Linked DNA regions of Homo sapiens: region 2 is linked to region 1. Evidence: promoter capture Hi-C in human tissues and cell types (Jung and others, 2019). All regions are on one chromosome and are shown on one strand. The core of a region is centred on a gene start or on the middle of the fragment in contact, and the rest is flanking DNA. Distances in the headings are between cores, read along the strand shown.

Region 1 (2,705 bases), core at 181-2,680:
AATTCATCTATGTTGTTCAAATCAGAATACTGATTGTTCTGGCCATAGACACAGTAGTGATGGAAGCTCTTGAGGTGCCGATAATATATTTCTTGATCTGTGTGCTAGCTCACAAGTGCTCACTTAGAAAAACTGCATTAGGCACTTACCACTTGCACAATTCTCTATGTGTTATATTTTAATAAAGGTTTACTTTTTTAAAAGCACTCCATAGTATCTCTAGCGATGAAGTTATACACACACACACATACATACATATATATTTTAACATACTTATGGGTAGATTCCTATCCAACTTACCTGTTCTTTAGTGTCTTTACTATTTATTTACTTATTTATGTTTCTGTATCCTAGGAACTAAGTAGAAGACTACCTAGCCTTCTATTCATTATTTGTGGGTTGGAGGTTGAAGTTCAAACATTTACTCAAACACATCCAAAACACATATGTGGCTTAAATATGGCTTTTCCTAGCCTTGCATAAATGTCTGATTCATATCTTGATGTACTCTACACTCTAGTGTCATAGAGAAAATAAGTCATTGGTCATAGAAAAACCTACATGCAAATCTTATTAACTTGATCAAAACCTAAGCTTAAAAAAAAAGCTAAGTCACAGAGATTCCTTTCTTTTCCAAATAACATTTTAAACACAATTTTTAGCCCTATTTAGTGAACTTCAATTCTTTAGATATGTTTTAGAACATAACATACTGCCAATATTCTCCACAGTATATTGAAGTTGAGAAGTGAAATAATTTTAACAATAAAATTTTATTAAAACATTACACAGTTAAGAAGTGTGTGTGTGAGAGATCTTTTCTCCTAATTATTCAAAATTTCACATAATATTTACATTAGAAAAATCTATCATGTCATATTCTAATTATAATGGTTTTAAGAAGACTAACGTCTTCTTCCAACTTACTCTGAATCTAAGGGACCACTTCTTTGCCACTAATAATAAAAGTTCAAGTTCATTAAGCAAAGATAGTATGGACTACATGAGGGCGTTAATATTCTGAGATGAAGACAGAAGGTTAATGACTAAAACTTTCAAACAAGTTTCTCTCTCTCTCTCTCTCTCCCTCTCTCTCGCTGTCTGTCTCTCTCTTGCTGTCTTCCATAAAGTCAGCAGGAACTTTGCAGCGTAAAAGGACACCCTAGGGGAAGCATGGCATAACTTGAAAGCGGTTTCCTGCTCCAGCCTAACCCCAAGCCTCTCCTGGGAGGGAGCGAGTGGAGCCTTCTCCCCGCCGGTCCGCTGGGAGGTTGGGAGACCAGGTGGCAGCAGCCTCCCCAGGCGCCGGGCACCCGTCGGCTGGCCCAGGGACTTACCACGAGCGCGCAGCACAGCAAGTTGTTCATTGTGGTCCCCGGAAACCTCAGGGGCTTGGAGGCGGCGGCTGGGCGAGCGCTCCGGTGCGTCTCCGCAGCCCGTGCGCTCATCACGTTATATATAGCGTCCCGGCAACAGGAAGTATCGCCTGCCTTTGATCAGTCATTTTTCTATCCTGGACCAAACTTTGCACCTTTCTTTTTTAGGAAGCTTGGGCGGGAGCGGTCGGGGGGTGTGCAGAAAGCTCCAGGGTTAACGCTTTCAGGGCTGGGGCGGAAAGGATCCCCCAGGGAGGTGGGGCGTGAGGGGTGGGGCGGTGGTGTCTGGCCCCTGGGAGAGCAGGGGAAAAAAAAGCCACCGGGCTGAGGAACAAGGCGGCTGCTGTCTCCGCGGGGCTCTGAGGTTTCCCGGCCCCTTCCCGCCAGCGGCCAGCCTCCTGGCAGCCGGGACCAGCGGTGGGAGGGCTGGGCACACGCTGGGCAGCTGCTGTGCTTGTGTCTCCTCCACCCTGAGAGTCCGATCCAGCCAAGATCCGGACGCAGTTGGAGTGTGTCCCAGACCTTTGTCCTCTCGCTGGGCGAAAGCTGTGAGTTTCCGCCGTACCCGGCTGCCTGACCCCTTCACTTCGGGTTCTGAAACCTCAAATTACAGGGCCCCTCTTTATGCATGGCATTGTCTGAGCCCTTTTCGGGGAGTTCGCAATCATTCATCTTCAAGTTTACATAAACCATGTAGTAGGAATTTTTCTAACTAATGTCTGATTGGCCCTAAAGCCCGTGCTATTCTGCATTCACTCCTTGTTATCTGGGGTAGTTAGAGCCAGAGAGAATCTGCAGAGTGAAAATTGGACTGCCTGGGGCAGGGATAACCTTGCGGAGCACTGTTCCCTTCACCAACCCCACCATCATCAAAGGGCTATTGGTATCGGAGCTTCCTACGCGCTGAACTTCTGGAGTAGCCTCCTCGAGGTCTTTCCACTAGCCTCAAGCTATCGACAGAAGTTTGGCACTTTGCTCTAGGGTTCGCTGTCTCCCCCATTAATTCCCTGGTCTAGAAGTTAGACTTGATGACTTGTAAAGTGTGGTCCCATTCATGGATTACAGTTCGCGGGTTGCCACTGAAATTGTTTACAGATGGCTGAAAAAGTCCCTGCAGAGCTGCTTCCCCATCAGGGCCAAGTGTTCAAGTTATATGTCTCCAGAGAAGGGCAAATACTGCCTTTCACCAGATTCAAGGGAAGGAAGGTGAAGAATCAGGAGAGGGGACCCCTGGGGAGCAAGGATGGCTTACCAGGATCAGAGCATCTGCCCCTTCCAAGGGACATCCTTCCACCACGAGTTCAAAGTGGATCCACAGACTGTTCCATC
Region 2 (2,700 bases), core at 79-2,578, 170 kb before region 1:
AAGAGATATTTACTCCATTGTTCCTCAGTTCCTGAAATGTGTGTGAGCTACTGTCACCAAAGCTTGTCGCCTTCCTTCACTCCAGTAGACCACTTCTAACCAGCATATCTGTGGGGAGAACCTGTCTCCCAACCCCTTCCCTAGCTGGGACATTGTTCTGTCTCTCTCTCCCCAGCTCTATCTATAAGAAAGGAGTAGGCATCTGAAAGATCATGGTTGACCTGGTATATCAGAGGAGATGGCAGAGAATAAATAGAGGAGAGGATTGAGAAGGGAGAGGAGGAGAAAAGAAAATGGAAGAATGGAATAAGGCAAGAGAGACATTGAGGTAGTCTGGAGGTCAACTTCAAAGAGATCCCAACTAGCAGTGACAAAATGATTAGGTTGTCACACTGTCCCATTAAAAAAAATGTTTAATGTATGCTTATTCTGTGCTAGGAACTGCCTACTTTGCCATATCCTCTATATGATTCTATTTCATTTTCATTTCATAGATAATAAAATTGAGGGATCAGGGGGATTTTGAGCACAATACTCCAGCTGCAGTCTAAACCTTCTTAGTCAGAGCCCATGATTAAGAATAATAATGCAATGTGTTGAGTCCCTACAACATCTCAAGTACATTTATTTTTGTCTCGAAAAATTGTTTTTGTTCCTTCTGATCAATAAATGCATATGGCTGAGTCTTGTTATCCGTGCCCATGTGTATCTGCTACTTCTTATTGTCTACGACTTTGTCATTTGGGGTTACATCCAAGAGATGGCCTACAGCTGGGATGGACTTCATGGAGCAACTATATGTCATGTGGACCCTCTGGCCACTCTGCTCTGGACTCATTCCTCCCCAACCAGAGCTTATCTGGAACTGAACCAGCTCCCAAGGGTAAAGACAGGTCACTGAGCAGATGACCTTGGCCTTCAACTGCTGACCTTGATTTGCGTGTACTGGCTTTGAGGGAGGAGGCTTGTGGCTTCCTTTTCCCTGGACTTACACTTAAAGGAGGCTTAGATTGGCTGCACTCCTCTCACTAATGCATGAGAGGTTAGGCGTGCATCATTGGATAGTATGCCACAAACCAATGTGATAGAAATCAATGCTGCCCATATATAAGTGACCAGCTTGGTCATTTACTTCATGCTTTTGTCCCCACAGAAAAATGACAGAAAAGCTTTATATAAACAAGTTACAGAACAATGACAAATATTTCTGTATCAACGGTATGCAAGAATTATGCCAGGTAATTCTGGGGATACAGAGGTGTCATGTTAATAGCTGGAATAAAGAAATTGCTGAGATCAGACTGTGAACCCTATACTAAAAGTCAATTCTGTGCCAAATGAAGGTAATTAGGAAAAAGGAGATACAAATAGGCACATGCTAAGATGAGTGAGATGGTTACTTCACAGTGCAGATAAAATGGTCTTTCCATAGGTCTATAGGAGTGGTCATATCTACATATTTCAAACCAAATACAATGATAATTGGTGGTTTTTGTGAACTGTGTATTCATTTGTTAAATAAGTTAGAAAATGCCAATTTAAGACAAGGTATATAGGTATCTTTACAATAGGATCCTCTAACCATTTTAATGCTAAATTTGAAGTTCTAAGAGAGACATTAATTTTCTAAGTTCTTACACTTTTTGCATGTTGAAAGCATTTTTATGTGTAACATCTTCTAGAACAATCTTTAGGCTGGGAATAATCATTTAATATTTTCAAGTCATCTGCCTTTTATTTTATGTTCTCCTTCCTTTAGGTCTCAAGGAGAAAATCTAGGTGGTACAATGTAGTGAAAAAGTGACCAGGGAGTGGTCCAAGACCTGGACTCATCAGTCAAGGCTGTTTTGGTTTCACTTTTTACGAAAATAAGTTGCCGCTATGTCCTCAACAAAGCGAGTTAACTTGAGACTCATTAACCCAAAGACAAAATTGGCCAAAAGATTTCAGGTCTTCCACAAGCCTGAGAACAAATCCAGCCATAAACCCTTTAAATGAACCCCCAATATCCATTTCCCTTTTATTTCCTCAGGATGATCAGCCCTGACCCGTTATCTTGCGGTTCATTTCATGTTTGTTTAGGGCAGGGGTGTCCAATCTTTTGGCTTCCTTGGGCCACATTAGAAGAACTGTCTTGGGCCATAAGTAAAATACACTAACACTAACAATAGCTGATGATGAAAAAAAAATTGCAGAAAAACCCCTCAATTTTTAAGAAAGTTTACAAATTTGTCTTGGGCCACATTCAAAGCTGTCCTGGACCACATGTGGCCTGTGGGCCAAGGGTTGGACAAGTTTGGTCTAGGGCAACCCAAAGAAATTGTAATAGACTAGCACTAGGGGGATCCTAAGGGAACATGCCAGTTAAACTCTCCTACTATATAGACAAAAAATCCTTCTTTGGAGTTCAACTTTCCCTTGGGTTAAAGTGCTGGTTAGTGTGAGAAATGACAATGGAATTAAGGCCACCTAATTCAGAGTCTATGCCACTTACGGCAGCATATGGAGACTCTAGGAGCATTCGGACATTTGAGTTCCTTGACACCAGTCTAACCAATGGGAGATGCCCAGGGGAAATCCTCCAGTTTCTCCAAGATCCTCTTATGTTCTCAACATAGTAATACTCAACTTAACTATAGCTTCTATTATCTCTTGGGGAGAAATATTCAACAAAAGCAATTAAGGGGTAAAAACTCCATT

Evidence for each region. The method cuts DNA at HindIII sites, captures the fragments that hold promoters and counts their contacts. A contact is called where the count stands out against the background at its distance.
Region 2: a contact is called between a fragment that was not itself captured here and the fragment with the promoter of TNFRSF11B in region 1, in 2 of the 25 tissues and cell types used here (dorsolateral prefrontal cortex and spleen).

What each region holds. Positions count from the first base shown.
Region 1 is chr8:118,950,455-118,953,159 of GRCh38, forward strand. It overlaps TNFRSF11B (TNF receptor superfamily member 11b), which reads right to left and starts at 1,431. Exons shown (of 5, transcript NM_002546.4): 1 at 1,338-1,431. The coding sequence starts at 1,367. It also overlaps a transcript of COLEC10 not described here. The HindIII fragment of the contact is 2,925 bases long and covers 1,072-2,705 here.
Region 2 is chr8:118,776,670-118,779,369 of GRCh38, forward strand. No RefSeq gene overlaps it. Among named protein-coding and RNA genes, the nearest start is that of SAMD12, 160 kb to the left of the region's middle. The HindIII fragment of the contact is 3,819 bases long and covers 1-2,700 here.